Linked DNA regions of Homo sapiens: region 2 is linked to region 1. Evidence: promoter capture Hi-C in 16 types of primary human blood cells and fetal thymus (Javierre and others, 2016). All regions are on one chromosome and are shown on one strand. The core of a region is centred on a gene start or on the middle of the fragment in contact, and the rest is flanking DNA. Distances in the headings are between cores, read along the strand shown. Region 1 holds the start of ZNF81 (zinc finger protein 81). Region 2 holds the start of ZNF157 (zinc finger protein 157).

Region 1 (6,812 bases), core at 3,188-5,687:
AGTTACCTCCCAGAACCTAAAAATGCTGCATATAGTGGAACCTTATGTGACCTGGGGATTTCCAAATCTGAAGTCTGTCCGGGAACTCATTTTTAAACATAGACAAGCCAAGGTCAAGAATAAGACCATCCCTCTGACAGACAGTACAGTGATTGAGGAGCACCTGGGGAAGTTTGGTGTCATTTGCTTGGAAGACCTCATTCATGAAATTGCCTTCCCAGGGAAACATTTCGAGGAGATCTCATGGTTCTTGAGCCCTTTCCACCTGTCAGTGGCCCGTCATGCTACCAAAAATAGAGTAGGCTTCCTCAAGGAGACGGGCACACCTGGCTATCGGGGTGAACACATCAATCTGCTCATCCACCAGCTGAACTAGACCCAGGTGCCAAACTGCAGTAAATTTGTATCAATGAAGTGGAAGCATGTGTTTTTATTTTTGGGGGGAATTTTTATCAAGTATCTTCAGAGAAGTTTATCTCCTGCTTTATCTTCAAAAACTGGAAAGGAAGGGTCAAAGAAAAGACAGTAGCTCGCCGGGCGCGGTGGCTCATGCCTGCAATCCCAGCACTTTGGGAGGCCAAAGCGGGCGGATCACCTGAGGTCAGGAGTTCAAGACCAGCCTGACCAACATGGAGAAACCCCGTCTCTACTAAAAATACAAAAATTAGCCGGGCATGGTGGCGCATGCCTGTAATCCCAGCTACTCAGGAGGTTGAGGCAGGAGAATCGCTTGAACCTGCCTGGGAGGCGGAGGTTGGGGTGAGCCGAGATTGCGCCATTGCACTCCAGCCTGGACAACAACAGCAAAACTCCGTCTCAAAAAAAAAAAAAAAAAGAAAAAGAAAAGAAAGAAAGAAAAGAAAAGACAGTAGCTTATGTTCATGGCAAGCACCTCTCATCACAGTCCAGTTTCAAGGAAAAATTCCAGCATTTTCTACATTGGCTGCGGCCTCATCTGAAATCAGCACATTCCACGGAGGAAGGAGTCCTGCTTTGCTGCATCTTCTATCCTAGGGTTTAATGTTGGTTAATGAGTAACTCTAGCATTTGTATAATGCTTCCTAAGAATCCTGCAGCAGTCGACCAAGCCCAGGGACATAATTGAATCTGGAGATTCCTGGGGACTTGTTTTGAAAAAGACTCGAAATACACATAGGAAGAAAGGCACAAAAATAAATGTTCACTTGTCTCTGCAAAAAAAAAAAAAAAAAGAGAGAGAAGACATGAAGACACAAATTACCAATATTAGAAATGAAACACAGAGATGTAACTGCAGATCCTGCAGCCATTAAAACAGGGGTATCTAATCTTTTGGCTTCCCTGGGCCCCACTGGAAGAAGAATTGTCTTTCACCACACATAAAATACACTAACACTAACGATAGCTGATGAGCTTTAAAAAAAATGCAAAAAAAACTCACAATATTTTAAGAAAGTTTACGAATTTGTGTTGGGCTGCATTCCAAGCTGTCCGGAGCCACATGTGGCCCACGGACAGCGGGTTGGACAAGCTTGCATTAAAAGGATAGTAAGGGAATACCACAACAACTTTGTGCACATAAATTCAACAACTTGGATGAAACAGTCCAATTCCTTGTAAAATGCAAAGTACCACAATTCACCCACTATTAAATGCAGGTTGAATGTCTCTTATCCAAAATGCTTGGGAACAGAAGTGTTTCAGATTTCAGTTTTTTTTTATTTTGGAATATATGCATATACATAATAAAGTATCTTGCAGAATGAGACCCAAGTATACACACAGAATTCATTTATGTTTCATGTACACTATGTTACCTTATAACATAGCCTGAAGGTAATTTTATATAACATGTTTAATAATTTTGTGCATGAAACAAAGTTTTCACTGCATTTTGACTGTGACCTGTCACAAAATCAGGTGTGAAATTTTGCTTGTGGCATTATGTTGGCACTCAGAAAGTTTTGGATTTTGAAGCATTTTGGATTTCAGATTTTTGAATTAGGGATGCTTAACCTGTAGTCTAAAATGATATTAAATAGATAATCTGAATAGTTACATAACTATTACAGACATTGAAGCCATGATCAAAAAGCTTCCAAATGGAAGTTTCCAGGCCCAGATGGCTTCACTGGAGAAGTCTACCAAATATTTAAATATTTAAATAAAAATTAGTACTTATTCTACACAGTCTCTTCCAGAAAACAGAAGAGGAGGAAATAGTCCCCAACTCATTCAATGAGGCCAGTATTACCCTAATACTAAAACCAGACAAAGCCAAGAGCAGTGGCTAACACCTGTAATCCCAGCACTTTGAGAGGCTGAGGCAGGAGGACTATTTGAGCCCAGGAGATTGAGACCAGCCTGGGCAACATAGTGAGACCCGGTTTACAAAAAATAATAAAATTAGTTGGGTGTGGTGGCGTGTGCCTGGAGTCCCAGCTACTCAGGAGGCTGAGGTGGAAGAATCACTTGAGGCTGGGAGGTCAAGGCTGCAGTAAGCCATGGTCACACCACTGCATTCCAGCCTGAGGAACAGAGTGAGAGCCTGTCTCAAAAATAAAAAATAAAACCAGACAAAGATAGTATAAAAAAGAAAACTATAGACAAATATTTCCCATGAACTTAGATGCAAAAATCCTCAAAAAAGCATTAGCTAATCAATTCCTTCAATATATCCAAAGAATTATACATCACAACCAAGTAGGGTTTATTCCAGGAATGTAAGACTAGTTCAATATTCAAAAATCAATCAGCATAACCCTCCATACTGACAAGCTAAAAAAGAAAAAAAATCACAAGATCATCAAAATTCAGAGTGTTGATGAAATTCAACACCCATTCACGATAAAAACTACTTTTGAAATTAAAAATAGAGGGGAACTTCCTCAACCAAAAAAGAGGGTCCAAAAAAAGAAAGCCCTACAGCTAAAATCATACTTAATGGTAAAAGGTTGAATATTTTCCCCCTAAGACTGAAAACAATGCAAAGATGTCCACTCTCTTATTCAACATAGTACTGGAACTTCTTGCCAGTGTAATAAGGGAAGAAAAGCAGAGGTATAAAGATTGGAAAGAAAGAAATAAAACTATCCCTGTTTGTATATGACATGATTGCTCATGCAGAAAATCCAAGGAATCTGCCAAAAAAGGTGTAAAACCTAATAATTGAGCTCAGCAAGATTGCAGGATACAAGACCAACAGACAAAACTCAATTGTATTCCTATATATAAGCAACAATTTAAAAGATAACACCATTTATGACCACTCCAAAACAATTAAATACTTAGGTATAAATTGAATAAGACATGTACAGAACTTGGGTGATGAAAATTAAAATACACCATTTATAGAAATTTTAAAAGATCTAAATAAATAGAGAGACATACTATGTATATGGATTGGAAGACTTGGCACAGTTAAGACTTAACTTCTTCCCGAGTTGGTATACAGGTTTAATGCAATTCCTATCAAAATCCAAGCAAGATGCTTTGTAGATAGAGACAAGATTTTCTAAAATGCATATAGGAAAGGCAAGGGAACCAGAGGCATTAAAACAATTTTGAAAAAGAATAAAGTGAGAGGAATCACTCTATCCAATTCAAGACAGCAAGGTAGTACTGGCAGAGGGATAGACACATAGACAATGAACTGAATAGCAAACCCAGAAAGAGCCCACACACAAGTATGGCCAACTTATTTTTGACAATGGTGAAAGACAAGTCAATGGAGGAAAGATAGTCTTTTCAACAAATGGTGCTTCAGTCTGGACATCCATAAGCAAATTAATGCACCTCGACCTAAGTCTCATACTTTATACAAAAAGTAACTCACAGAGGATCACAGACAGCAGTAAGGAGACACAGACAAATCACCATCACAGTGGAGAATTTCTCTCTCCTCGAAGTAATAGAAGAAGCAGACAAAAAAGGATAGATTTTCTATGACACAATTGACGACTAAATAATTAAATATTATTTTCAAGTTATATATAGAACGTTTCTAAAAATTCACCACGGACTAGGCCATAAGTCTCCTTATATTTCAAGGAATGAGCTTCACGTAGATATTTTTCTAACACAGAAAACTAAGGTTAGAGATCCATTACAGAGATAAACTTTTGCACACTGAAACCCCACTTTTGAATAACTCCCGGGTAAAAGACAAATGAATACAAGTTAACACTCTTAAAAAACATAATGCTCCAAACCCAATGGGGCTTAGAATGAACTTTAAGACCTTAACGGTGATGTTAGAAAAGAGAAAAGCCTGCAAAATGATGAGTGAATCATCCAACTCAAGTTAGATAAACGATTCCATCACTGGCCACACAGAATCGCCCAGCACTCACCCTCCCCGGCCCCCCATCACCTCCACATCCCTGGGCACTGAACGTCGAATCCTCCTGACAACTATCAAACCCCGGCTGAGAACCGGCGAGAACCGCAGCCGCTTCCGGTCACTACCCCTAGCACCGCCCTTTTTCGGGGTTTGGGACTTCACATGAATGAGGGAAGCGGAGGTTCCGCGCGTGCGCAAAACCACCTTTGAAGCTGCTGTTAGCCAGGAGTCAACATGGAGAAGTTACGGAAGTGGGTGCTTTGGGACGTTCGGTACCCCTCGGCGGCGTGGTCAGGTGGGGAACATGGCCGCGCCCACGTCGCGCTTCCCCATGGGATACACCATGTTGGAGGAGTGTCCATCCGTATTGAGGATGAGGACACCTCTGAACTCACAGAGCAGGCTGTGAGTTTAGAGCTGTCTGCTCTAAACTCAGGTGGAGCTGTCCCGCTGGTGGCAGGGAGCACGGGTGGGGACGTTTCTCTGGGCGGGCTAACTGGAGGAGGGGGTCTTTGGACCTGTAGTCTATGGATCTGTGTGATACCGCTCCGAGAAACTGAAGGGCCTCTTGGAAAGAATCAGGGGCGGCCGCGGCTATCTCCTGGCAGATACCACAGGATGAGAAGCGGGGAGATGTCAGGCTGGTTACAGGCTTCTCCTAGGACATACCACAAGGGGAGGAGGAGGAGGAGAAATCATGGTTATGCAAGCCCTCCTAGGATATGCCATGAGGTGGGAAAAAGGGAGAACTCAGAGTGCTGGGTTCCCCTCCTGCTGTGCCTGTGGGGCTTGGATGCGAGGTTTGAATGCTGCAGCAATTTACCTTATCTCCCACTCCATCTACCCCAGCTAAAAAGGGACTACGTAGTACCAATACTAATAATTTTTAATGTGTCCTTAGTCCAATGCAATATGTCAATAAAAATCTTTAGGAAACTTTATTATTTTTATTTCCTCATGAAGTAAAATATATGTGGTCATGGTGCCCTTACTTTGGAAATGTAGCTTTAATACAAGGCTCTGCTTCTACCCTTCAACCAGTTTGCTGCTCCATATCACCTCCAATGTGTAAATTCTGGAGATGCCCCTGCCCTCTGGGAGATGTCACTGGAGCAGAAGGGGAAGAAGTCGTGCAGTCCTTCACCTAAGAATGCCTATTCATCCTTCAAAATCAAGTTCAAATATCTCCTCCTCCAGAGAATCCTGACAGAGCTAGAAGCCTGTGTGCCCTCCTGAAAGCCTTTCTGAATCCTCAGGTGAAAAAAATATTTTGAGAGGACCTGGTGTAGGCTGAAGTGTGGACTTGCTGGGGGCTCTCAATCCAGTCTTATCCCCTCTGGCCCTCGGTTTAACAATCTCGAAGGTTAGAGGTGTCCTAGTCCAATTAGCCTCAAACTAATTTTTAGTCTGACAGATCCAGCAATCAATAAGGGAGACTGCACACCAGGGGCACCATGGGCAGCTCACTAAGCAAAGGAAAAGATAGAGTTCTTATAGGATTTTGAGGAATAGTGGAGTTCAGATGAAATTAAATGAAGCAGTGTTTTAGTGGGCTCAAAGGAAAGCAGGGCTGTATGTAAAGGGTAATTGTCAGGTCTGGACTGTGAAGTGAACCCAGAGTGCTGTTTCCTTGGAAACAATTTAGATGTAGAATTTTGTGTCCCCAGATAACTCTTGCCTAAAGCTTTGCACCTGGGTTGAAAATTGAATCTTGCTTCTCTGTCTGGAAGTGACTTAGAATCTCCCATGAGAATCAGATGTTTCCCTCTTACTGATATCATTTCAAACAGCAAAGTTTCTGATAGTCTATGATTGTAGAGAACAAAGTTTCTCATTGACCAAGAAAGCAATAGGCACTTAAAGTAGGGGTTCTTTATGGCATTACAACTGCAGCCTGTCCTTAGAAGAAATAATGTTTCCTGTGAATTTTGCATTTGGCTTTATATGTGTCTGTTCTTCCATCCTGATGAATAGCAAGGCAGATTTTTATAGTCCGATTTTCATTTTAATTTTTTTAGAGAGTTGGTATCTTTGTCCATTTTCTGCTACTGTAACAGAATATCACAGATTGGGTAATTTATAAAGAAAATAAGCTTATTTGGCTCATAGTTCTGGAGATTGGGAAGTCCAACTTGGTGCCAGCATCTGGTGAGGGCCTTATTGCTGCATTATTCCATGGCAGAGGACAAGAGGGCAAGCAAGTGTATGAACAAAGAGAAAGCACAAGGGACTGGGCTCACTTTATAACAACCCACTCTTGAGGTGACTAACCCATTCCCTCAGTGACAGCATTAATCAGTTTATGAGAATGGAGCCTCCATGACCTATTCACTTTTTAAAGGCCCCACCTCCTAATACTGTTACAATGGCAATTTCAATATGAGTTTCAGAGGAGACAAACATTTGAACCATAGCAGTTGAACTTTGATTATCCCAGCTTGTCATTCTGCCCCTGCATCCCTGGTCTGGGCAAATGTTTGTTGAATGAATA
Region 2 (6,812 bases), core at 1,479-3,978, 470 kb after region 1:
TAAATTCTTTTACCTGTGAGCCACCGGCCCAGACAGTGGCCGCTCACCCTCAACAGGAAACACAAAACTGACTATGTTTACTGATTTATTATAAAGGATTTTTTTTTAAGACAGAGTCTCGCTCTTTTGCCCAGGCTAGAGTGCAGTGGTGCGACCTCGGCTCACTGCAACCTCCGCCTCACAGGTTCAAGTGATTCTCCTACCTCAGCCTCCCGAGTAGCTGGATTACAGGTGCCCGCCACCACACCCAGCTAAATTTTGTATTTTTAGTAGAGATGAGGTTTTATCATGTTGGTCAGGCTAGTCTTGAACTCCTGACCTCAAGCGATCCTCCCACCTCGGCCTCCCAAAGTGCTGGAATTACAGGCATGAGCCACCGTGCCCCACCTGAGCTTTATTTTTTGTAGTAATGAGGTCTCACTTTGTTGCCCAGGCTGGTCTTGAATTCCTGAACTCAAGCAATTCTCCGGCCTCTCCCACCAATAAAGGATATTTTAAAGAATACAAATTCAGGCCGGGCATGGTGGCTCACACCAGTAATCCCAGCACTTTTGGAGGCCAAGGCAGGTGGATCACCTGAGGTCGGGAGTTTGAGACCAGCCTGACCAACATGGAGAAACCTCATCTCTACTAAAAATACAAAATTAGCTGGGCGTGGTGGCATATGCCTGTGATCCCAGCTACTTGGGAGGCTGAGGCAGGAGAATCACTTGAATCCAGGAGGTGGAGTTTGCAGTGAGCCAAGATCACGCCATTGCACTCCAGCCTGTGCAACAAGAGCGAAACTCCATCTCAAAAAAAAAAAAAAAAAGAATACAAATAAATCACAGCCAAATAAAGAGATACATAGGGCAAGGCATGTGGGAAGGGGCCTGGAGTCTTCATGCGCTCTCTGGGTGCACCACCCTCCAGGAACCCCCATGTGTTCGGCTACCCAGAAGCTCTCCAGACTTTATCCTTTTGGGGCTTTAGGGGGGCTTCATTATGTAGGCATGATTGATTAAATCATTTGCCCTTGTGGATCGACTTGACTCTCAGCACCCTCTCCCCTCCCAGGTGGTTGGAGGGTCCCAACCCTCTAAACCTACCTTAGTCTTTCTGGTGACCAGCCCCATTCGGAAGCTGCCTAGGGACTGCCAGGCATCAGTCAACTCATTAGCATACAAAAAGACACTTTAGTACTTTAGAGATTCCGAGGATATTAGGAGTTGTTTGCCAGGAAAGACCAATTATATATTTCACAGTATCACACCCCTACAAAAACCTTACACAAACTATTATAGGATCTTTATTCATAATATCCAACAACTAGAAACAACCAAGATGTCTTTCAACCAGTGAATGGTTATACTGTTTGGTACATCCATGCGATGGAAAAGTATCAGCAATAAAAGGAATGGGCAGGGCACGGTGGCTTACGCCTGTAATCCCAGCACTTTGGGAGGCTGAGGCAGGTGGATCACGAGGTCAGGAGTTCAAGACCAGCCTGGCCAACATGGTGAAACCCCGTCTCTACTAAAGATACAAAAAATTAGCCAGGTGTGGTGGCACGCACTTGTAATACCAGCTACTCGGGAGGCTGAGGCAGGAGAATAGCTTGAACCCGGGAAGCAGAGGTTGCAGTGAGCCAAGATCACGCCATTGCAGTCCAGCCTGGGTGACAGGGCAAGACTCTGTCTCAAAAAAAATGAATGAACTATTGATATACTGTTAGCTATTGATATCTCCACAGAATTTTGCTGAATGACGAAAGCCAGTCCCAAAAGGTACATACTGTACAATCTGATTAATATAACAGTCTCTCTTTTTTGTCCTTTTTTTCCTTTTTGTGGAGAACAGGGTCTCACTATATTGCCCAGGCAGGTCTCAAACTCCTAGGCTCAAACTATCCTCCTGCTTCTGCCTCCCTAAGAGCTGGGATTACAGGCATGAGCTGCCATGCCCGGCAAATAAAACTTTTTTTTTTTTTTGAGACAGGGTCTCACTCTGTCACCCAGGCAGAGTGCAGTGGCACGATCTTGGCTTACTGCAACCTCCGCCTCCAGGTTCAAGCGATTTTCCGGTCTCAACCTCCCGAGTAGCTGGGAGTACAGGTGCGTGCCACAACACCTGGTTAATTTTTGTATTTTTAGTACAAACAGGGTTTCACTATGTTGGCCAGGCTGGTCTCAAACTCCTGGCCGCAAGTGATCCACCCGCCTCGGCCTCCCAAAGTGCTGGGATTACAGGTGACAGGCGTGAGCCACCACGTCCAGCCACAACATTCTTGAAATGAAAAAATTATAGTATTGGAGAACAGATTGGTGGTGCCCCAGGGTTAAGAGGGGAGTGATGGAGGAAGTGAAGTGGTTGTGTCTATTTAATGACAACATGGGGGATCCTTGTGGGGATGGAAATGCTCTGCATGTCAATATCCTGGGTATTACGAGATGTTACTACTGGGGACAAAAACTAGGTAAATGGTACATTGCATTTGAATCTACAATTATCTCAAAATATAAATTTAACTAAAAATAAATAAAAAAATAAAGAACATATAGAAAAAAATAGGATCCTCCTCCTTACCTCAAAAGATCTGCCAGGTTCTCCTGGAATCAGGGCAGGGAATCTCTGGGGTGATGTCCCATTAGCTGGCATGTTCACCCTGGGCCTCAGCCCACCTTCCGTGCTGGACAGCTGTCTGTGTGTAGAGGGTCCTGCAGCCTCCAGTAAGGGGTAAGGCTCAATGGCTCCACAGAGACACCAAGAAATCCTAAAAGGACAGTATCCATATCATCAGTGTCATCCCACATTCACGCCACAATGTTCAGCATCCCCAGAGCATGAGTCAAGGTGGATTACAAAATGATCAAATTTGGGGCCAAATTAATGAGCTTGGGGTCCCTTCTTGAGTGGCTCTACCAGGTGCTTCACTCGCTACTCAGCCAGCCTACACCTCAGTTCAAGTTCAAGGCAGATCTGGGTTTAGGAGAAGTAGAACTGGGGCAGTGCTTAAGGGTGCTTAAGGCCCATGGGGTGGGCAGGTTCAAGGGGACCTGGTGGGTGACTGTGAGGGCAGGAAACCTGGAAAGCTGATAATCTAAATGAAAGGAAATCGGCTGGTCCTTTCTTCTGCCGTCTTTTGTTTTTTTCCACTCTTAGATGAAATATCCCTCTTAAATTCTTTTACTGGGAAGCTTTTAGCCTCTTCTTTCCAGAAAAAAATGGTTCAATCTTAATAATGTTATGTATTTTTTCTTTTTTTTTTTTTTTTTTTTGAGATGGAGTTTCACTCTTGTCACCCAGGCTGCAGTGGAATGGTGCGATCTCAGCTCACAGCAACCTCCGCCTCCCAGGTTCAAGGGATTCTCCTGCCTCAGCCTCCCTAGTGGCTGGGATTACAGGCGCCCGCCACCACGCCCAGCTAATGTTTGTATTTTTAGTAGAGACGGGTTTTCACTATGTTGGTCAGGCTGGTCTCGAACTCCTGACCTCAAGTGATCCTCCCGCCTTGGCCTCCCAAAGTGCTGGGATTACAGGTGTGAGCCACTGCACCAGGCCTAATGTTATGTATTACATCAACAAATTACAGAGGGAAACACTCTGCTGTTAACTTACACCAAAAAAGCATCCAACGCAATTCAGCAGCCATTACTAATATAAGCTCAAACTAAAATCATGGAAAAAGTAAATAACTTAAGTGCCACAAAAATCAATTATGAAACATAACTCTGAAACACCATGCTAAAAAGTAAAATGATGAAGCTATTGCCACAAAATTAGTACTGTCTGCTATAACCCAAAATTGTTTTGTGGGCTCTAGCTCACACAAGAGAAGATGAAATAGAGTGGGCTGGGCACAGTGGCTCATGCCTGTAATCTCAGAACTTTGGGAGGCCAAGACAGGAGGGTTGCTTGAGTCCAGGAGTTCGAAACCAGCCTTGGCAACAAAGTGAGACGCTGTCTTTACAAGAAATAAAATAATCCGAGTGTGGTGGTCCACACCTGTAGTGCCAGCTACTAAGGAAGCTGAAGCAGAAGGATAGCTTAAGAAGCCTGAGAGGTTGAGGCTGCAGTGACCTCTGATGGCGCCACTGCACTCCAGCCTGGGTGACAGAGCAAGACTTTGTCTCTAAAAGAGAAAGAAAAAGAAAGAGAGAAAGAGAGAAAGAAAGAAAGAAAGAAAGAAAGAAAGAAAGAAAGAAAGAAAGAAAGAAAGAAAGAAAGAGAGGAAGGAAGGATGGAAGGAAGGAAGGAAGGAAGGAGGGAAGAAAGGAGAAAAGAAGAGAAAAGAAATAAATAATCAGGCCAGGTGCAGTGGCTCACGGCTTTAATCCCAACACTTTGGGAGGCCAAAGCAAGAGGATCCCTTGAGCCCAGGTGTTCAAAACTAACCTGGACAACATGGCAAAACCCAGTATCCTTAAAAAACAAACAAACAAACAAAAACACACACACAGAGTTGCAGTGCATTGAGATCACTCCACTACACTCCAGCCTGGATGACAGAGTGACACTTTGTTTCTATTAAAGAAAAAAAAAAGAGGCCAGAGGAGGCGGCTCACGCCTGTAATCCCAGCACTTTGGTAGGCCAAGGCAGGCTGATCACCTGAGGTCAGCAGGTCAGGAGTTCAAGACGATGGTGAAACCCCGTGTCTACTAAAAACACAAAAATTAGCTGGACATGGTGGCACACACCTGTAATCCCAGCTACTCAGGAGGCTGAGGCAGGAAAATTGCTTGAACTCGGGAGGCAGAGACTGCAGTGAGCCGAGATCACGCCACTGCACTTCAGCCTGGGTGACAGAGCAAGACTCCACCCCAAAAACAAAACAAAACAAAACAAAAAAAAAAAAAAAGAAAAAGAAAAAGAAAAAAAGGCAGAAAGAAAAAAGAAAATAATAATTAGGGTGAACATGAACATTGGGAAGAAATGAAAACGAAAATGTAGCTTTCTATCCAATAAGATGATTTTATACATGGAAAACCTACCAGACTGCTAAAAGACTACTAAAATTAATAGGGTATAATATAATGTAAGGGGCTGGATACAAGGTAAAATTACAAAAGCAGATAGTTTCTTTTCTTTTTTTTTTTTTTTTTTTTTGAGACGGAGTCTCACTCTGCCGCCCAGGCTGGAGTGCAGTGGCACGATCTCGGCTCACTGCAACCTCTGCCTGGGCTCAAGCGCTTCTGCGATTCTGCTGCCTCAGCCTCCTGAGTAGCTGGAATTACAGGTATGCACCACCACACCCAGCTAATATTTGTATTTTTAGTAGAGATGGGGTTTCACCATGTTGGTCAGGCTGATCTCAGACTCCAGACCCCGTGATCCTCCGACCTCGGCCTCCCAAAGCGCAGGGATTACAGGCATGAGCCGCCGCACCTGGCCAAAAGCAGATAGTTTCTCTCTATAATAACAATGAGGCAATGGAAACAAAATTGCATAAATAATGATAGCAAAAACTATATAAAATACGTAAGTGTAAGTATAACTTTTTTTTTTTTTTGAGACAAGGTCTCCCTCTGTCACCCAGGCTGGAGTGCAGTGGTGCAATCACGGCTTTCGGAATCAGGCAATCCTCCCACATCAGCTTCTGGAGTAGCTGGGACTACAGGAACGCTCCACCACGCCCAGCTAATTTTTCTTACTTTCTTTCTTTCTTTCTTTTTTTTTTTTTTTGTACAGACGGGGTTCTCCCTGCGTTGCCCAGGCTGGTCTCGACTCCTGGACTCAACCGATCGCCATCCTCGGCCTTCCAAAGTGCTGGGATTACAGGAGTAAGCCACCGCGCCCAGCCAGAATAAACATTTTAAGGAGGTGGGCCTATACGATTACAAAAAGAAAAAAATTTTGACTAATATAAAATAGTCGGCCTGGGGCAGTGGTTCACGCCTGTAATCCCAGCACTTTGGGAGGCTGAGGCGAGTGGATCGTTTGAATCCAGGAGTTGGAGACCAGCCTGGGCAACATGGCAAGACCACCATCTCCACTAAAAATATAAAAATTAGCTGGGCGTGGTAGCGTGCGCCAGTAATCCCAGCGACTCGGGAGGCCGAGGCACGAGAATCGCTGGAAACGGAGGCGGAGGTTGTAGTGAGTGGAGATCGCGCCACTGCCCTCCAGTCTGGGCGACAGAGCGAGACTCCGTCAAAAAAGAAAGAAAGAAAGAAAGAAAAGATGGTGTATACAAAATATTCTTGATTGCAGCTAAAGAGATTCTTAAGGAAAAACGCATGCTCTTAAAAATTTTTTTAACAAAGAAAGGCTGAGCATTAATGAATTAACATCCAATTTAAGAAGTTAGAGAAAACGGTACAGATAAGAGCAGAAATTAAAGAAATAGGAAACGAAGGTACATCAGAAGAGATCTGTGATCAGAGGAGCAACAAGGTCAAAAGTTGTTTTTTTGGAAAGGCTAATAAAATTAGCAAACCTCTGGGAATACTGATAAAGGAAAAACCTAAAGCGCACACTATTAAGGCTGGACATCAAGACACAGCAGGGAATCTAAAACCTGACTACTCCAGAGGCCCTCATCCCTGACACTCATAGATTCCCATTCATTAGGTTCTTTATTTCCCCACCAATTGACACCACAACTGCCAATGCATCATCCCCCGAAGCCAACAAAACCTCAAAATCACCTGAGCGACTATCACGCCATAAAACCTCGTGCACTGCATTTAGCATCGCGCGCCAAGAAGACTTAAACGGCCTCTGAGGGGGATTTCCGTTTCCTGTCCTCACCCCTGACACTGCACCTTCTAGGGCTGTTGATTTTGCACACGATCATTAGGACTGAGAGATTGTAGTCTACTCACTGAACACA

The links. Contacts are between HindIII fragments. The CHiCAGO score rates a contact against its expected background, and 5 or more counts as called.
Region 2: the fragment with the promoter of ZNF157 here is called in contact with the fragment with the promoter of ZNF81 in region 1 in 1 of 17 cell types (non-activated CD4 T cells); the score reaches 6.1 in non-activated CD4 T cells.

The regions. Positions count from the first base shown.
Region 1 is chrX:47,834,527-47,841,338 of GRCh38, reverse strand. It overlaps ZNF81 (zinc finger protein 81), which reads right to left and starts at 4,437. Exons shown (of 5, transcript NM_007137.5): 1 at 4,352-4,437. It also overlaps the pseudogene RPL7P57. RefSeq lists an enhancer at 4,310-4,689. The HindIII fragment of the contact is 3,931 bases long and covers 2,077-6,007 here.
Region 2 is chrX:47,366,494-47,373,305 of GRCh38, reverse strand. It overlaps ZNF157 (zinc finger protein 157), which reads right to left and starts at 2,728. Exons shown (of 4, transcript NM_003446.4): 1 at 2,566-2,728. The coding sequence starts at 2,637. RefSeq lists enhancers at 6,556-6,655, 6,776-6,812. The HindIII fragment of the contact is 3,930 bases long and covers 1-3,178 here.